Linked DNA regions of Homo sapiens: region 1 is linked to region 2. The links are contacts of gene promoters, found by promoter capture Hi-C in blood cells and fetal thymus (Javierre and others, 2016). All regions are on one chromosome and are shown on one strand. The core of a region is centred on a gene start or on the middle of the fragment in contact, and the rest is flanking DNA. Distances in the headings are between cores, read along the strand shown.

Region 1 (5,256 bases), core at 49-2,548, 200 kb after region 2:
CTATTTGATAGGAAGTTTGTGGGTTATTCTGAGTAATGAAGCGCTAACAAGAGATTTTAAATGAGGTATAATCTCCTTATTGAACAATATATATTTTAGAAATACAAAAATAGTGGCATGTGAACTATAGATTGGAAAGACAGAAGAACTATAGATTAGAAAGATGCAAAGAGGTCCTTGAGAAGTCTATGACAGTGCTGAGGAGGGGTTGAGAAATTATAAGGGTCTATAGCCATCACCAATTAGTGCCATTCACTCCTGCATCCTAGCTCTGGATGATTGATTCAAAGGTGGCCAACCAGGTTATACTAAGAATTTGAAAGTTTGCTAATGACCCACAGAGCTGTAAGATGATTGCACCTGAGCCACCTCATGTGGTATCCCAGGCTGGAAGACTCTGAGCTCTGAGCTCTACCTGCTGAGGTCCCCGGAGCTGCCCCAGATCTAGTCCTTCCTAAAGCAAGACTACACAATTTTCTCTTCAGTTCTGTGAGCTTTCCTAATATTCTTTCAAATAAATCCTTTATTTTCTTAGGGTTCATTTCTGCAGTTTATGACCAAAAAAAAAAAAAAAAAAACCTAATATGGGCTCTGAAGCAGGGTGTCCAATCTTTTGGCTTCCCTGGGCCACGTTGGAAGAATTGTATTGGACCACACATAAAATACTCTAACGCTAACAATAGCTGATGAGCTAAAACAAATCACACAAAAAAAACTCATAATGTTTTAAGAAAGTTTTTGAATTTGTGTTGGGCTGCATTCAAAGCCATCCTGGGCCACGTGTGGCCCATGGGCCATGGGTTGGACAAGCTTGCTCTAAAGCAAGGTAGTGGCAGTGAAGAGGGTTAAAAAAGGATATATGAAAGATGTTAGGAGGGTAGAATTAATAGAACTTGGTAACTAGTTGAATACATGAGATAAGGAATATAATCACATTTTTAGCTTTGTTACCTGAGTTAATGGAGGTGCAAGTTACCAAATTAGAGAACAAAGGGAATGGAGCAAGTTTGGGGGATAAATGATGAATTTTGTTTCTGGTCAGTTGAGTATGAGGCAGAGGTGAGGATGTTGTCTAGTAAGTAGTTTAAAATATGGGACTGGAGCTCAGGAGAGACAGGTTTGGTACTATAGATTGAATGTTTATGTCCTCTGCCTCCCTAAATTCATATGTTGATACTGAGTCCCTAATTATGAGGGTATTAGGATGTGGAGCCTTTGTGGGGGCAATTAGTGCACTTATAGAAGTGGCTTCAAAAGCACATCTTTACTCCTTCTGCCATGTGAGGACACAACAAAAAGCCGGTCCTCACCAGATACTGAATGTGCCAGCACCTTGATTTTGGACTTCCCGGCCTCTGGAACTGTGAGAAATAAATTCCTGTTGTTTATAATCCACCCAGTTTATGGTATTTTGTTATAGCAGCCTGAACAGACTAAGCCATTTGGGTAGAATTATGCATTTGGAAGTCAGCCTCAAGCATTATGTGCTAATTGAAGCCATTGGACTAGATAAGATCAAGTAGGAAAAATGGTGGACTAACAAGAGACTAAAGCATAGAACCATGCCCCAGACTATGTAAACATCCAAAAAAGAGCATCATAAATGAATTTTGTAAAGAACATGGAAAAGGAGTGGCCAGAGATTGAAAGAGAACTAGGAGGAAGTGGCCACAGGTGGGATGATATCATTGGAAGGGATGCTATTATGAAAAAGGAAACAAATTTTTTAGCTTCAAGCAGCAAGTTTTGAAGGTATAGAAAAAGATTAAAACTTGCAAAAATGACCAAAAGCTTAATAAGCAATCCAATGCTGCCACTTATAAGGCAGATAAATCTAGACTGAAAAAAACCTACAAGGCTTGGGTTCATGGAAATGCCAGGATTTGCTTGAAGAAACAGAGACCATCTGGTAAAAGAGAATGTGAATCCCCATTGTTTGTCTTCTTTTTTCAGAGATACAGGGGCTGCATTGATCAAAACTCAGGGCGATCCTCCCTGCCTACTACTCCTTGGGTGTTGATCTATGACAGGGCCTAAGAACAGCTCCCCCTTATCCCTTCACCTACATAACTTTCCACATTCAGATGGAGACTTCACACCCCAGGTAACAGCTGGGCAGGGAGGACAGGGTGCTGGGGTGGCACAGTGCATTCTGAGAGATGTGACCTCAGGAGCAAAGAGCAGGAGGAAGGGCACAAGATGGGAGGAACTGTTTTTTTGAACAGTTTTGTCCTCTTTTCTCATTTCTAACTGTTTATAAAATAGAAACGGCTACCTTTATGGAAGTATTGGTATGGAAAGTAAGGAAGTGTGGAAAGAAGCATCTACCCTTCATGAAAAAAGGTAGTGGCACAGAATGCCAAGCAAGGGTAGTTTGCCCCATTTTTGTCTTCTTTCATTCTTTCTTTTTCTTTCTTTCTTTCTTCTTCTTTCTTTCTTTCTTTCTTTCTTTCTTTCTTTCTTTCTTTCCTTCTTTCTTTCTTTCTTTCTTTCTTTCTTTCTTTCCTTCTCTCTCTCTCTCTCTCTCTCTCTCTCTCTCTCTCTCTCTCTCTTTCTTTCTGTCTTTCTTTCTTGCATTTTCAGACAGGGTCTCATTCTGTTACCCAGGCTGAAGTGCAGTGGCATCATCATAGGTCACTGCAGCTTCAAACTCCTGGGCTCAGGCACCCACCCACCTCAGCCTCCTGAGTAGCTGGGACTACAGGCATGCACCACCATGCCCAGCTTTTTTTTTTTTTTTTTTAAAGAGACATGGTCTCACTGTGTTGCCCAGGCTGGTCTTGAAATCCTGGCCTCAAACAATCTTCCTCTCTCAGCCTCCCAAAGTGCTGGGATTACAGGCATGAGCTACTATACCTAGCCACTCTTCCTTCCTTCTTTCCTTTCTCTCCTTCCTTCCTTCCTTCTTTCCTTCCTTCTTTCTTTCCTTTTTTTTTTTTTTTTTTTTTTTTGATGGAGTCTTGCTGTGTCACCCAGGCTGGAGTGCAGTGGCATGATCTCGGCTCACTGCAAGCTCCACCTCCTGGGTTCACACCATTCTCCTGTCTCAGCCTCCCAAGTAGCTGGGACTACAGGCACCCACTACCACGCCTGGCTAATTTTTTGTATTTTTTTAGTAGAGGTAGGGTTTCACCGTGTTAGCCAGGATGGTCTCGATCTCCTGACCTCGTGATCTGCCCTCGGCCTCCCAAAGTCCTGGTATTATAGGCGTGAGCCACTGTGCCCGGCCCACTCTTTCTTTCTTAAACAGCCTGCTGGTGACACATGAAGCTCTTGCTTTCTTGAGGAGAGGCCTATCATTTATCAGTGGCTGGGTAAATCTTTCCAGTTCAGGGGGATGTTTTAGGAAGCCCAATGTATGTTCAGGCCCCAGCCAGTCTCCAAACCAACTTCTAGCAGAAAGCTGATATTCTGAACTTACCAGATTTTTGCATGTGTTTACTAACTGCTTCAGAACCGGTAAGGGAAAGAGATGTAATTGGCACCTCAAATATTACTTTTGCACCAACCTAAATCAACATCCTGACTACAGTGAATGCTACAACTGTTATTTTACATAGTCTACATAGACTCAGATACCAGAGAATATGTAAGTAGGAATTTGAGAAAGTTATCTCCCCAGCAAAGCAAAAAATGAAAGCCAGATAGAAACTGGGGACTGGGCAGGGAGGTTTGCCTAGCAACCTGCCCTCCATCTCTGGTAAGAAAGCAGGAGCAGAGTTTATAAATTCATTAATCTCATGTATTGACCAACACCAAGACTCAACAAAGCTAGCATTATTCAGAGATGAATGAATGGAAAATGATTTTTAGGGCTAATGCATTTTATGAGGAGTAGAATATAGCAGCAGCAATAGCTGCTCTGGCAAGAATAGGGAGCTAAGAAGCTGCCAGAAGTGGAGGAATACAGAGAAGAGCAGGAGGCTGGGAATCTGGGAATTAGGAATCAAGGCCATCCAATTTTTCTGTAGATTTGTCTATTAAAAATGTGGGGAAATCTACTTACGAAAGTGGAAGCTGTCTCTCCACTCAGTACTTACATTCAATTTAGCACTGGAGTGTCAGGAAAATGGGGACCAAAGGAGAAACAAAACTGGGTGGGGGGGAAATGAGGTTTTAAATGTACAAGATGGACAGCAAGGGATAGAAGGTGGTCTCAGGAAAAACTCTGGGACTGAAGATGCCCAACATGGCAAATTTCTGAATGTTTCCAACATGGCGGGATGATACATGAAGGAGCAGTGGATATGCATCCCCATTCAGACATTCTCTGCCGACAGCAGTGAGAAATCCCATGTCTTCTCCTCCTCTTTTTTTTTAACTTTTATTTTAAGTTCAGGGGTACATGTGCAGGATGTGCAGGCTTGTTACATAGGTAAACATGTGTCATGGAGGTTTGTTGTACAGATTATTTCATCACCCAGATATTAAGCCTAGTATCCATTAGTTATTTTTCCTGATCCTCTCCCTTCTCCCACCTTCCACCCTCTGATAGGCCCCAGTGTGTGTTGTTTCCCTCTGTGTGTCCATGTGTTTTTATCATTTAGCTCCCACTCATAAGTGAGAACATACTGTTTTTGGTTTCCTGTTTCTGTGTTAGTTTCCTAAGGATGATGGCCTCCAGCCTCATCTATTTCCCTGCAAAGGACATGATCCCATTCTTTTTCATGACTGCATAATATTCCATGGTGTATATGTACCACATTTTCTTTATCCAGTCTATCACTGATGGGCATTTAGGTGGATTCCATGTCTTTGCTATTATGAATAGTGCCACAATGAACATGTATGTGCATGTGTCTTTATAATAGAACGATTTATATTCCTTTGGGTATATACCTGGTAATGACATTGCTGGATCAAATGGTATTTCTGTCTTTAGGTCTTTGAGGACAGTGTATAAGCATTCCTTTTTCTCCACAATCTTGCCAGAATCTGTTATTTTGTGACTTTTTAGTAATAACCATTCTGACTGGTGTGAGATGATATCTCATTGTGGTTTTAATTTGCATTTATCTAATGCTAAGTGATGTTGAATTTAGTAAACAGACAACCTACAGAATGGGAGAAAATTTTTGCAAACTGAAAATTATGCATCTGACAAAGGCATAATACCCAGAATCTATAAGGAACTTAATATACAAGAAAAAACAAACAATCCCATTAGCTGGGCATGGTGGTGCGTGCCTGTAATCTCAGCTACTCGGGAGGCTGAGGCAGGAGAATCGCTTGAACCAGGGAGTCGGAAGCTGTGAG
Region 2 (5,225 bases), core at 1,799-4,298:
GCCACTGCGCCCGGCCACATTGGTTAATTTGGTTGAGAGCGGGCTCGATGTGATTTTATTGATGATAATGTCTTCAATTTGCCTTGCCCTCAGTACAAAGCAGCATGTTGTACCAAGGGTTCTGGGCTGAGGGACATAACTAGGGAAGACTGAGCTGTGAATTTGTCCCCTCAGTAGAGGATCACCCTGGCCAAGTTCCAGTTCATCTTGGAGCCTTATTTTACATCAGATGGGAAAAGACCTTGCAGGTCATTCATTGTCTTACATGCAGAGCTCGCATACCTGCCACAGGGTTACCCAGCCCCCAGTGGACAGAGAATTTGTCCCATACCAAAATGGCTGAGCCACCCAATCCCTCTAGACAGCCCCTATGTTGGAAAATTCTTTATGTTGAATCGACATCTGTTTCTCTACAATTTGCACTCATTGGAGCCATACAGAATAAAATGTCTAATGCTGCTTCCACAAATATTTGAGGACTGCTAACACATTTCCTTCTTCTACTTACTCCACAAGGCTTCTTTTCTTCAAACCAAACATGCCCATCTATTTCAAACAGGGAGGCAGTGTGGAGTAGTGGAAAGAAGGCCAACTTTGGAGCCAGGCACATCTGCGTTCAGTTCCCAGCCCCTTCACATCCTAACACTTAGCGTTCCGAGCTGCCGTATCTCTCTCTGAAATCTGTGAGTGAAAATACTCATCTAGCCAGGCTACTGTGAGGATCAGGGATATGTTGGGTGAAGATCCATGCTCATGGTAGGAGCTTAAAATACGAGAACTGTTACACCTTCAGTTTGCAATTCATTTAGTTGACCTTCTCTGAACACATTCCTATTTGTCTCTGTTTCAATATGTATCTGCTCTGTAGAACAGAATAAAATGCTTTCTGTGAGTTCTAACCAGCATAATAGAGTAGGATTAGCTTATTTTTGGTACTTCCCCTCAGTCTGCAGTCACAGTAGCCTTTTTAAGGGTCCTGTCTTACTGATTCAGTAAGTTTCTCAACCAAAACCCCTTCGTTAACATGTGCTCCTGTTCAACCAAGTTTCTCCCATTATGAAGTGTTTTAGTTGATTTGAATCTACAATGATGGCTCTTGAAAGTGGCAGTCCCGGTTGTGTCTTGTTGTCTCCATAAATATCCTGCACTTGTCATATTATGGGTCTCAAACTGGGGTTAGAAAAATATGGTTCTTGAATCTGTGGTACCATCTCTGCTGATCCCATACCACTGTTGTGAATCAGCGAGATAATAAATGCAGAGCTTTCTACATGAATTTTTGCACAGATCTGAGGTCTTATCATGAGGCGGAACTGTGTTAGACTTGGAATGTGACAAGAATGTGTGATAAGCCACTGGCTGAGGGAGTACTACTGCATGAGATATCCTGCACAGTCCAGGATAGCATCTGTCCAGAGGAACTGAAAGGGTGCAACTTCGAGCAAGCCAGAGCCGACTTTGAATTTATGTGTGGCTGTGTGTTTTCTCAGGGCTCCAAGTGTTTTATACCTTGGGTCAAATTCTCCCCCTGCGGAGGAAGCTCCTTTCTGGAAGTAAATCAGGCACATTTAGAAGATTCGTTAACTCTTTGGCTCCTGGGGGATTATGGCCAGCATTTTCTCTCTTAGACTTCCCACAGCGAATTCCTGGTTGGGCCAAGCTGATATCTTTGAGCTGACTTCTGTACTCAGGGTTCTTCCAAACAGGAATATGCTTTCTCTGCCTAAGATCTGGGTTCCATGCCCATCTCAACCTCAATCCCTCCTTCAAGGAAGTTTTTCCTAACTCCTCGGCCAGACATCAATAATGTCTGAAGGGAGGATTTCTCCCGAGTGCCAGACTTGGAATTCCTGTTGTCTTCAGGAGCTCTCCCTGGCGCTCCCTCCTTCCCCCAGGGCCTTTAAACTGTTTCTCCTCCAGTCTGCCCACTTGATCCATGTGGGTAGACATGTTCCATGGCCTTCAGAATAAGATCTTTTGTGGGGTACTCAGTCCATAAACAGAAAATTGCCTTCATCTTGGATGCTGGTGTTTCTGGCCTGGTGAGAATGAAAGTGTGGAATTTGTTTGTAGGACTCAAAGTTTCCATTAACAATAAATATGAAAAATATATAATGCAAAGGCTTTTGTTATTGTTATTATTAAAATAGGAAAGCCTTTACCTTTTTGGAAGAACCGATTTAGATTTTGCAGAGTAATTCAGTCTTTAAAAGGTAGTGGTAGTTAAAATAGGTAATCTTTGACTTGTAAAGAGACTAATTTAAATTTTGTTAAGTAACCAATTAAGGCCATAAAGAGTTTAAATCCATCTGTGGCTTCTCATTTTCTCTAGAACAAATTCCTAATTCCCTACGATGAAATTCTCTTGCTATCCTAATTTTTTGCCGGCTCAAAGGACTAACCGTTTTCCCCAAACACGCGGCCCTGAGCCTCCGGTGCTTTGCGAAAGCCGTCCCCTCCGGCTGGAATGTTCTTTGTCTCTCTGGTAAATGTCTATTCATCATTCAAGACCACCCTTCGCCCCTCCCCTTAATTACTTCCTCCCCTGTGCGCCCTCAAATTCTTGTACTCATTCAAGCAGTATTTATTAGGGGCCAGCTTTGTGGCCGGCACCGTGGCGGGCTCTGGGGCTACAAAAGGTGAATAATACTTGGGCTCTGCCTCTGAGGGCCTTACACGTTAGGGAGGAGTGGGTCAACTGCCACAAACGTCGCTAGGAAATTAAAAGGAAAATTTTACAAAGTGGCAGTTCTTGTCTGTCTTCCCCTCCAGATGGCCCGTGTGTTGTTTTCGGGCCGGGGCTATTTCTCATTTATTTCGCACCCCCGGTTCTTAGTGCCCTGTAGGTGCTAAATCAGCATTTGTTTCATGAGTGCTTTTTCTGGGGGCAACCAGACCCCTGCAGAAGTGTACCTGTGTTGTGCCAGAGGTTCTGATGATAGGCTTATAGGCGGTAGTTTCCTCAGTGTCCGTGGGTCGCCCCCGGTCCCGGGTTGGATGCCCCGCGGTCCAGCACCGAACCTTTCGGGGTGCAGAGTTGCAGAGCCGCGGAGGGCCCGGGCCGTGCGCAGCCGAAGGGAGGCCTGCAGCGCCCCCTCTGGATGCAGCGGGCACCGGCCGGCCGCCCCGCTCACCCGCTCGCACCCCACGTTTGTTCACCAGTATTTCAGTTTACGGTCAGAAAATGAACACAGACACTTCGTGATACTCTACACTTTTCAAAGGCGTAAGGGATGCCTTTTAAAGGATTATGGATTAGAAAAATTCCTCCCTCTTTCTTGTGCCTCTGGGCCCTTGCATTGTGATTCTATCTTACGTAAATAAAGGGGGCTTTGCTCTCCTAATTGTGCCCACTGTTCTGTGCAGCGCGGACCGGCGCATGCAGCGAGCGGGGCTGCGAGGGCGCTGCTGTGGCCAGGCGTCTGGCATGCTGACCACGTCGCGCTGCTGTAAAGGAAACCTGCCCCGCGCAGCGGCGGTGGCTGGAGCGGGAGAAACCGGACTTTGTGCAACTTTGGCCATAGTGGCCATCCCATGAATCTGTTTACTAGCTTGGTGGTGGGTCCAACAGAGCTTGTTGCTCCCTAGCCGCTTGCTCGTGCCCTTGGTGGTTACCGGTAGTTAAGCTTAGGGCGCATAGGGCCCTCGTGGCTCGCCACCTCTCACGGTTCAGTACCCACGCTTCGAACGAGGGATGGGAGCAGGCGCCACGGCCGGCACCCCAGAGCCCTGCTGCCCCTTAGTTCGAGCGGCCATCCTCCTGTGGGGCTTGTGGGCAGCCTGTGGGGTTTGTGGGCGGCCTGTGGGGTTTGTGGGTGGTCTAAGGAAAGAGTTGGGGCACTCAGGGGTCTGCTGTTTTTGCCCGTGGCCTTAACTCATCAGGGGAGGGTTTCTGCAGCAGAATCTCGGGCTCAGGGTTGGCGGTTAACGAGGGAGCAGCGGGGTCTTGGGGAGGGGGCTCGACACCCCTGAAGGTGCCCCCTAAAGGAGCCACTGTTAGAGGGGCACCCCATCTTTGTGGCCATGGCGGTGGTAGAGCGGCTGGGAGGGGCTCTGCGGCGAGCAAGGGAGCAGGCGGTAGGGGTTCTGCGGCGATGGGCGGGCTAGGGGCGGGGCGCGGGTGGGCTCTAAAAGTCGGTGCCCACTCGCTCCGCGCTGCCGCGGCAACCAGCACACCCCGGCACCTCCTCTGCGGCAGCTGCGCCTCGCAAGCGCAGTGCCGCAGCGCACGCCGGAGTGGCTGTAGCTGCCCGGCGCGGCGCCGCCCTGCGCGGGCTGTGGGCTGCGGGCTGCGCCCCCGCTGCTGGCCAGCTCTGCACGGCTGCGGGCTCTGCGGCGCCCGGTGCTCTGCAACGCTGCGGCGGGCGGCATGGGATAACGCGGCCATGGTGCGCCGAGATCGCCTCCGCAGGTGAGTGTGCGGTGGGAACGAGGGGGTGTGGCTGGCGGCCCTGGGACTAGGGCGCAGGCGAGCGGAGGACTGTGTGCCCGTGTCCGAGCTGGGGCTGCCTCTGGGCGAAAACTCTACCGACAGGCGGCACGCATTCCGCGCCCGCTCTGCCTACTTGAGGAGGGGGTGTCACTCCTGCCCGCAATGGAATGTTCAGAACGCGGGACCTCCTTGGGTTAGGATTTCTAGACCCCGGGATCGTCGTGGTGAGATTTAGGATTTCTGGACCCCAGCGTCATCTTGATATGACTTAGGATCCATAATGACCCTGGTCTCACCCTGATGCGAATTGGGATTTTTAGATCCTGGCATCACCCTGGTGCGATTTAGGATTTTTATACTCAGTCATTGCTGCAGCATGATTTAGGATTTCTAACCCCCAGCATCGCCCTGGTTTGATTTAGGATATTTAGACTCCGGCTTCCCTCTGGTGCGATTCAGGATTCTTAGACTCCGCCGTTGCCGTGGCGCGATTTAGGATTTATAGATCCCGGCAAAGCCCTGGTGCGATGTAGGATTTTTAGAACCCCAGCATCGCTCTGGTGCGACTTAAAGGATAGGCCCCAGCATCGCCCTGGTGCGATGTAGGATTTTTAGAACCCCGGTGTCTCCGTGGCGCACCTTAGGATTTCAAGAACGGGATAATCGCAGTGCCGAGATCGCCGCGGTGCAGCTTAGGATTTCAAGACCCAGGTATCACGGTGGCGGGAGTCACCGCAGTGACTAGAACTCGCAGTGCCCGTCAGCCGCCTTAAGTATTTTTCAGATTTCAGTA

The links. Contacts are between HindIII fragments. The CHiCAGO score rates a contact against its expected background, and 5 or more counts as called.
Region 1: a fragment that was not itself captured here is called in contact with the fragment with the promoter of MESTIT1 in region 2 in 1 of 17 cell types (endothelial precursors); the score reaches 9.3 in endothelial precursors.

The regions. Positions count from the first base shown.
Region 1 is chr7:130,687,930-130,693,185 of GRCh38, forward strand. No RefSeq gene overlaps it. Among named protein-coding and RNA genes, the nearest start is that of TSGA13, 4.0 kb to the left of the region's middle. The HindIII fragment of the contact is 981 bases long and covers 809-1,789 here.
Region 2 is chr7:130,487,929-130,493,153 of GRCh38, forward strand. It overlaps MESTIT1 (MEST intronic transcript 1, antisense RNA), which reads right to left and starts at 3,049. Exons shown (of 2, transcript NR_004382.2): 1 at 2,914-3,049; 2 at 1-2,039. MEST (mesoderm specific transcript) reads left to right here and starts at 4,157. Exons shown (of 12, transcript NM_002402.4): 1 at 4,157-4,411. The coding sequence starts at 4,386. RefSeq lists a silencer at 2,985-3,194. The HindIII fragment of the contact is 7,997 bases long and covers 1-3,624 here.